Regions from separate parts of the Homo sapiens genome. Here region 2 is linked to region 1. The links are contacts of gene promoters, found by promoter capture Hi-C in blood cells and fetal thymus (Javierre and others, 2016). All regions are on one chromosome and are shown on one strand. The core of a region is centred on a gene start or on the middle of the fragment in contact, and the rest is flanking DNA. Distances in the headings are between cores, read along the strand shown. Region 1 holds the start of RXFP4 (relaxin family peptide/INSL5 receptor 4). Region 2 overlaps DAP3 (death associated protein 3).

The links. The method cuts DNA at HindIII sites, captures the fragments that hold promoters and counts their contacts. A CHiCAGO score of 5 or more calls a contact.
Region 2: a contact is called between a fragment that was not itself captured here and the fragment with the promoter of RXFP4 in region 1, in 1 of 17 cell types (megakaryocytes). The highest score is 5.6, in megakaryocytes.

The regions. Positions count from the first base shown.
Region 1 is chr1:155,939,809-155,944,405 of GRCh38, forward strand. RXFP4 (relaxin family peptide/INSL5 receptor 4) reads left to right here and starts at 1,830. Exons shown (of 1, transcript NM_181885.3): 1 at 1,830-3,279. The coding sequence starts at 1,902. The coding sequence ends at 3,026. RefSeq lists a silencer at 1,270-1,564 and an enhancer at 1,884-2,383. The HindIII fragment of the contact is 9,136 bases long and covers 1-3,211 here.
Region 2 is chr1:155,721,193-155,725,374 of GRCh38, forward strand. DAP3 (death associated protein 3) reads left to right here. Exons shown (of 13, transcript NM_004632.4): 4 at 325-426. Among named protein-coding and RNA genes, the nearest start is that of DAP3, 34 kb to the left of the region's middle. The HindIII fragment of the contact is 2,795 bases long and covers 1,412-4,182 here.

The sequences.
Region 1 (4,597 bases), core at 580-3,079:
CTGTCGCCCAGGCTGGAGTGCAGTGGTGTGATCTCAGCTCACCAAAATCTCTGCCTCCCGGGTTCAAGTGATTCTCCTGCCTCAGCCTCCCGAGTAGCTGTGATTACAGGCACTCGCCACCACGCGCCACTAATTTTGTATTTTTAGTAGAGACGGGCTTTCCCCATGTTGGTCAGGCTGGTCTTGAACTCCCGACCTCAGGTGATTCGCTCACCTCGGCCTCCCAAAGTGCTGGGATTACAGGCATGAGCCACCTCGTCTGGCCAAGCAGTTATCTTAATTGCCAGATTAGCAGGGTGATTCTGGGTGGGCAGAGGAGTAGACATGGCCCCGAGAGACAGTGATGACACAGTCACACAGGAGCAGCCATGAGGCCAGAAGGTAGCCTGTGGGGCTCACCTGACCTTGGGCTGGGCACTCCCCTTCTGCCACCCCCTTTATACTCATCCCTGGTTCGAAAGCCCCAACATGTTGGCACCCAGCCTGTATCACTCTCACCTCTGGGTTTCTCCTATGTGTTCACAAGCCCACTGCTGATTTATTGTCGCAAAGGGCCCCTCTCTTCCCTCAGCACTCCAAAGGAACTGAACATCGAACGTTATCTTAATTAGCTGGCAGAGGGCAAGAAGGGGCTGAATATATTGGAATCCTTGAGAAAGCCTTACTCTTTTACCTATCCACCTCCTGCCTTCTCTTTGTCCCCACCTCAGCTCCTTCTGCAGTAGGTAGAGATGTAGGCAATGAAAGGGGAGGGCCCAATGAAGCATTTTTTTTTTCCAGTTATGATTGAGATCATGGGGAGACAGGATGAGGTGTGGTGAGGGCGTATCTCAGGATCCTTAGCTCTGACATGGGGTTTGCAGGAGAGAGTAGGGGGACCGCTGAGCTCTGTCCACAGACTAGAGCAGGAAAGGGGGGAAAGGCGGCGATAGAGGTTAGCAGGAATGTTTAATTATCAGGAGCAGGAACAGAACTGAGGGCATGCCCAGGTCCACACAGGCCCTCATAGGCCCAGTGTTCCCAGTGGGGAGGAAACAGGAAGCTGTGACTTCCTCTCTCTTTTCCCTCCCTGCTCTTAGCCTCAAGGTCACTGCTGCTGAGATGAATTCCAACCTGTTTTAGTTGGCACTGTTCCCTGGGCATGGTAATAGCCTCTCAGTACCCTTCTGCCACAAACACCCCAAACTTCTCCTTTGAAATAATATTCATACAAATTGCTATTTCACATGTGTTCTCTCATTGCATCATGCCACTCCTGTGAAGCAGACTTACCTGAAAATTTTAAGCAAGAAAACAGGCTTAGGGGAGTAAAGTAACTCTCCCAGTCACACGGCTAGTGAGCAGCAGGTCTGGGACTCCGCAGCCTCCGCTCTTTCCTCTCTTGGACACCCATGCTGATTCCCTGCCTCTATGCCACCTCCCAGGCCCCTTGCTTTGGGCCCCAAGGGAACACTTTCTGCAGAGGAGGGAGGCCTCTGCACTGTTAGGAACAGAGGCAGCTCTAGTTTGGTTCCTGTCATCTCTGGGACAGGGAACCTCCAGCTCTCTCCCTGGGGTGGAGGCTTGGGGCTGCCCTCCATAGCGGGGTAACTCTCCCTTCTCCCCTCCCTCTCTGCCATTTAGAGCCCCTCTTACAGGCGGGCGCATGCACATATACCCTGGCATTCAGGCTGTGCCTCGCCCTGCCCCACCTACCACCAATCTTGACCAACAGGAAGGTGGTGGGTTGTCCTTTCCACACCCCTCCCTCTGAGGTGTGGGCGTGGGCCAGGGCTCACCAGAGGCCCCAGAGAAGCACTTAATTCTACAGCCTCCTTCCTAGAGCCTTCAGTGGCCTCTGCCAGTCTGGCAGACACTTGCAGACCTCTCTTCTCAGCACCACCAATCTCTGATGCCCTGCGATGCCCACACTCAATACTTCTGCCTCTCCACCCACATTCTTCTGGGCCAATGCCTCCGGAGGCAGTGTGCTGAGTGCTGATGATGCTCCGATGCCTGTCAAATTCCTAGCCCTGAGGCTCATGGTTGCCCTGGCCTATGGGCTTGTGGGGGCCATTGGCTTGCTGGGAAATTTGGCGGTGCTGTGGGTACTGAGTAACTGTGCCCGGAGAGCCCCTGGCCCACCTTCAGACACCTTCGTCTTCAACCTGGCTCTGGCGGACCTGGGACTGGCACTCACTCTCCCCTTTTGGGCAGCCGAGTCGGCACTGGACTTTCACTGGCCCTTCGGAGGTGCCCTCTGCAAGATGGTTCTGACGGCCACTGTCCTCAACGTCTATGCCAGCATCTTCCTCATCACAGCGCTGAGCGTTGCTCGCTACTGGGTGGTGGCCATGGCTGCGGGGCCAGGCACCCACCTCTCACTCTTCTGGGCCCGAATAGCCACCCTGGCAGTGTGGGCGGCGGCTGCCCTGGTGACGGTGCCCACAGCTGTCTTCGGGGTGGAGGGTGAGGTGTGTGGTGTGCGCCTTTGCCTGCTGCGTTTCCCCAGCAGGTACTGGCTGGGGGCCTACCAGCTGCAGAGGGTGGTGCTGGCTTTCATGGTGCCCTTGGGCGTCATCACCACCAGCTACCTGCTGCTGCTGGCCTTCCTGCAGCGGCGGCAACGGCGGCGGCAGGACAGCAGGGTCGTGGCCCGCTCTGTCCGCATCCTGGTGGCTTCCTTCTTCCTCTGCTGGTTTCCCAACCATGTGGTCACTCTCTGGGGTGTCCTGGTGAAGTTTGACCTGGTGCCCTGGAACAGTACTTTCTATACTATCCAGACGTATGTCTTCCCTGTCACTACTTGCTTGGCACACAGCAATAGCTGCCTCAACCCTGTGCTGTACTGTCTCCTGAGGCGGGAGCCCCGGCAGGCTCTGGCAGGCACCTTCAGGGATCTGCGGTTGAGGCTGTGGCCCCAGGGCGGAGGCTGGGTGCAACAGGTGGCCCTAAAGCAGGTAGGCAGGCGGTGGGTCGCAAGCAACCCCCGGGAGAGCCGCCCTTCTACCCTGCTCACCAACCTGGACAGAGGGACACCCGGGTGAAGGGCGCAAGCTGAACACACTCCTCTTTCTGAGATCCACCAAGTGTAGGATCCTTGAGTCCTGGGGAGAAGCTGCCCTCTCTGCCAGGCTGCAGTGCCCTCAGGGAAAAGTCTGATCTTTGATCCCCAACTCTGGGTGTGGTGAATGGGGGAGGCGGGGGCTCAGATCAGAGCTGGATGTGACAAAGCTTAAGTCTTTATTTGGAGATGGGAAAGAAGAGGATCTGAGAATAAACCTCTGGATTATCCACAAATTGTCTTGACCTTTTATCCCAGTTCCACCTCCAGTTCAGTATGGAACAAAAGGATTCGTTGCTCCATTTCTGCTTTCTGCAAGAATACCTAGGAAAACTTCCCTAAGGGTTCTAGGCTAATGAATCAGAGGTCAGTGCCCATCTCTCTCTGTACCCACCCCCCACCTCAAAACAGGGTATCCCTTGTCTTTCTCCGGTATCAAGGCCAAAAATGCCAGCTTCCCCTGTCCTCACCTTACCATCTCAGTGGTGACCACTGAAACTTGCTGCCTGCAGAGGCCTCAGCTGCAAAAGCTGTAGTTCCCTTGAAGGGATGCCAGGTGTGGGGTATTGCTGGAATTTCCAGCACCTGCCAGGCCCTGGGTGTAAAACCCTGGTGCTGACGGGAGTGCCTGTGTGTCTCCCTTTAAATCAGGATTTGAAAGAAGTGAAGATAATGACAAGTCAAAGACATGGGTGGGGTGAAGGGAGGTGAGCGATTAAAGAGGGGAGGGGGCTGGGAGAACAGGCTGCAGGTAGAGCCAGAAAAGCAGAGACCTCAGAAAGTGGTGCTAGTCCTCCCTGCCCCAAATGCAAAGCCCAGAGTATCAATTTGAGTGTCAGAGCACCTGGATTCACAGCTTTACCTCCAGCAAATTACTTTACCTCTTTGTACCTCACTGTTCTCAACTGTAAAATGGGCTACTAAAGATTTAACAGTGAAATATACTGTTAGCTATTATTCTTGTTTGTTTGTTTGTTTGTTTGAGACAGAGTCTCGTTCTGTCGCCCAGGCTGGAGTGCAGTGGTGTGATCTCAGCTCACTGCAACCTCCGCTTCCCGGGTTCAAGCGATTCTCCTGCCTCAGCCTCCCGAGTAGCTGGGACTACAGGCTCCCGCTACCATGCCTGGCCAATTTTTTGTAATTTTTAATAGAGACAGAGTTTCACCATATTGGCCAGGCTGGTCTCAAACTCCTGACCTCTAGTGATCTGCCCACCTCGGCCTCCCAAAGTGCTGGAGTTACAGGCGTGAGCCACCGCACCCGGTCGAGCTATTATTCTTACACCCTGTGTAAAATGGAGACAGAGAGATGGGAGGAAATAAGCGTGCAGCTGGGAGATGGGGATGGGGAACCATGTCTCAGCTGGAATGGTTGTATATGCTCTGAAGTGGGGTATAATGAAAGTCTCACATAAAGAACTCAGAGGTTGGCCCCTAAGCCCCTCTTGAAGGTGTGTTCTCCAGGACAGGGGTTCCTCTTTGGTTCCTGTATTGAGATGCATCAATGATAAAGGTTAGCCATCAGAAGGATTTTCTAGGAGGCAGCCCCTAGAAA
Region 2 (4,182 bases), core at 1,559-4,058, 220 kb before region 1:
GGGTGCGGTGGCAGATTGTAATGCCAGCTACTGGGAGGCTGAGGTAGGAGAATTGCTTGTACCCAGGAGGCGGAGGTTGCAGTGAGCTAAGATCGCACCATTGCACTCCTGCCTGGGTGACAAAAGTAAAACTCCATTTTAAAAATAATATATATATATGTATGTGTATATATATATGTATGTATGTGTATATATATATGTATGTATGTATATATATATATATATACACATAGACATACATATATACACACACATAGATAAGACAAAAAAGAAAGTCTTGGTCACTTTGTCACCATTATACCTGTTTGCACTCTTATTTCCTAGGCCAAGCATGGGGATCAGCACGAGGGTCAGCACTACAACATCTCCCCCCAGGATTTGGAGACTGTATTTCCCCATGGCCTTCCTCCTCGCTTTGTGATGCAGGTGCTCAAGACAGGGAATGGAATTGGAGGGAGCCCAGAATACAAGCTGCTGCTAGCAAAGGGGTGGGGCTAAATGAGAAGAAAATTTAAAAAGATGAAATTTAATCTGAAAAACAGAAATTCATGTGTTGATTACCTTTTGTGACTAGTACAATTACTTTAAGCTCATGTTTAAACAATATTGATGTTTTCCTCCTTGTATAGCCCAAGAAGATTCCAGTAATTTCAGCATCAAATAACTGTTTTAAATGAACTTAAAATTTGCCTTGGCAAAATATCATGAAAATAGTTAATATGCTGCACAAAAGCAAAATCATAGTACACTCCTGAGCTAAATAGAAGCAATATTTTGATTAGATGCATTGGTTTTTATTCTCTTGTGGATTTTGTGAAAATGTTATCAAACTTGCCTGTGCAGGTGAGTTTTAGCATGCGAGCCAGAGGATCTCATTTCTTTAGTGTGGTTTATTTCGGGAAATTAGATGAATAATAAGGGCATAACAGGCCGGGCGCTATGGCTCACGCCTGTAATCCCAGCTGCACTTTGGGAGGCCAAGGTGGAAGGATCACTTGGGCCCAGGAGTTCGAGACCAGTCTAGGCAACATAGGGAGACCTGTCTCTACAAAAATTAAAAATTAAAAATTAGCTGGGCATGATGCACACCTGTAGTCACAGCTACTCAGGTGGCTGAGGTTGGAGGATCGCTTGAGCTCAGGAGGTGAGGGCTTCAGTGAGCCATGATTGCACCACTGTACCCCAGCCTGGGCAACAGAGCAAGACCTTATCTCAAGCATAAAATAAAATAAGGTATAACAGGCCAGGCAAGGTAGTTTATGCCTGTAGTCTCAGCACTTTGGGAGGTGAAGGTGGGAGGATTGTTTGAGCGCAGGAGTTCAAGACCAGCTGGGCAATATAATGAGACTGTATCTTTATTTAGAAAAGAAAAACATGGGCAACCCTCTCGGGTCCCCTTCCACACTGTGGAAGCTTTGTTCTTTTGCTCTTCTCAATAAATCTTGCTGCTGCTCACTCAAAAAAAAAGAAAAACATTTAGTCATGTGTGGTAGCTGCTTCGGAGGCTGAGGCAGGAGGATGGCTTGAGCCCAGGAGTTCAGGCTGCAGTGAGCTACGATAGTGCCACGGCACTCCAACTCAGACAACAGAGTGAGACCCTGTCTCCAAAAAACAATTTTAATTAAAAAAAATTTTGTTGAAGAAATCATCTGCAGTGGCACTTTAAACTGTTCCAAGACATACACAGTACAATGTTTATTCAGCTTCAGAGCTGTGAGGTTCTATCTTTAATTAACTATTTGAAGTTGTTTTCAGACTGGCTTAACCAACAATGCTCTGTAAGAACTTACAGGTTCTTTTCATAATTTTCATTTACATGAAGGCCTACTTCCTCACCATTGTTTGTGGATATTAGCATTGTCATACTGCCTAATATGACTTTTTTTTTTTTAAATACTGCTCCTTTTGGAGCAGACCTAACTCACGGACAGTGTGCCCAGGGTAGCTGACTTTATTTTATTACTATTATTTTAATTATAGAGACAGGGTCTCACTCTGACAACCAGGCTGGAGTACAGTGGCGTGACCACAGCCCACAGCACACTCTACATCTCTGACCTCCTGGGCTCAAGCGATCCTCCTGTATTGGCATCTCAAAGTGCTGGGATTACAGGTGTGAGCCACAGCTCCCAGCCCTGATGTGACTTTTTTTTGAAATGGAGTTTCACTTTTGTCGCCCAGGCTGGAATGCAGTGATGCGATCTCAGCTCACTGCAACCTACGCCTCCTGGGTTCAAGTGATTCTCCTGCCTCAGCCTCCCAAAGAGCTGGGATTACAGGTGCTCGCCACCACGCCTGGCTAATTTTTATATTTTTAGTAGACATGGGGATTTGCCATATTGGCCAGGCTGGTCTCCAACTCCTAACCTCAGGTGATCCACCTGTCTTGGCCTCCCAAAGTGCTGGGATTACAGGGATGAGCCACCACGCCCAGCCAACATTTGTTTTAATACCTTTATCATGTTTTTTTGAACATTGAGCCTTCCATTAAGTTTGGAATTGCCTGTCAAATCCTACACCAATTCAATTGTTTTGTTAGGATTTCTTTTAAAAATATCAACACTGGCTGGGTACAATGGCTCACGCCTGTAATTCCAGCACTTTGGGAAGCTGAGGTGGGCAGATTACTTAAGGCCAGGAGTTCAAGATGAGCCTGGCCAACATGGTGAAACTCCATCTCTACTAAAAATACAAAAATTAGCTGGGCGTGGTGGCACACGCCTGTAGTCACAGCTACTTGTGAGGCTGAAGCAGGAGAATCGCTTGAACCCGGGAGGCGGAGGTTGCAGTGAGCTGAGATCGTGTCACTGCACTCCAGCCTGTGCGACAGAGCGAGACTCTGTCTCAAAAAAAAAAAAAAAAAATTAACACTATTTTAGTTATACTTACAAACAGTATTTGTTAGATATTCTTATTAGTAGACATATTTTAATATTTTCTTTGCAAATCAGTTTCACACACATTAGTACTTCCCAAATTTCCCACCAAAGTATTCTGGTAGCAAAAGGGGAATTAAACTCTGAAAGGTTAGTATGCTGGAGGTATGAGGTATGGATGGCCTTAGAGTTGTGAGGCAGCTGGTCACACCTGCTCCTGAGCCGCCATGTATTTAGTTCTAGAGAAAAAAGTCTAAATGGTTAAAGTAATAAAAATAAATTTTAGGCCAGGTGCGGTGGCTCACGCCTATAATCCCAGCACCTTGGGAGGCTGAGACGGGTGGATCATGAGGTCAGGAGTTCGAGACCAGCCTGACCAACATGGTGAAAGCCTGTCTCTACTAAAATTACAAAAATCAGCCTGGCATGGTGGTGGCACCTGTAATCCCAGCTACTGAGGAGACTGAGGCAGAAGAATTGCTTGAACCCCGGAGGCGGAGGTTGCAGTGAGCCGAGATCACACCACTGCACTCTAGCCTGGGTGACAGAGTGAGACTCTGTCTCAAAAAAAGAAAAAAAAAAAAAATCAACTAAAAATAAATTTTAGGCCAGGTGCAGTGGCTCACGCCTGTAATCCCTGCACTTTGGGAGGCCAAGACGGGGGTGTCACCTGAGGTCGGGAGTTTGAGACCAGCCTGACCAACATGGAGAAACTCCTTCTGTACTAAAAATACAAAATAGCCGGGCATGGTGGTGGGTGCCTGTAATCCCAGCTACTCGGGAGGCTGAGGCAGGAGAATCACTTGAACTGGGAGGCAGAGGTTGTGGTGAGCCGAGATCGTGCCATTGCACTCCAGCCTGGGCAACAAGAGTGAAACTCCGTCTCAAAAAAAAAAAAAGAAAAAAAATTTAAAGAGTTAATGTTTATTGAATTATTAACTTGTGTCAGAAATTTTAAGCATTTTTCTATATGCTTTCCATATTTACAGTGGCCCTAAGTGGTATACATAATTTTGTTATGAGATATATCAATTATTTATAGATTTCAGCTGAGATAGAATATATGCTTCAGTAATAGGAATAATCAAAAGCTGACTATCATGTTACTTAGTGCGGAATAATGTATTTCAGTTTTTAGCTAAGTTATATGGATAGATTTTCAAACTCAGTACCAACCCAGCTTCTCCTAACTGAGTAAATTAGAGGCATGCAATCTGATGGTCTTGGTTGCCACTTTAGGCAGAGTATATATACCACCCCCCACCCACTCCTTCCACACCCACCCACTCTTTCCTTCTTTCCTACT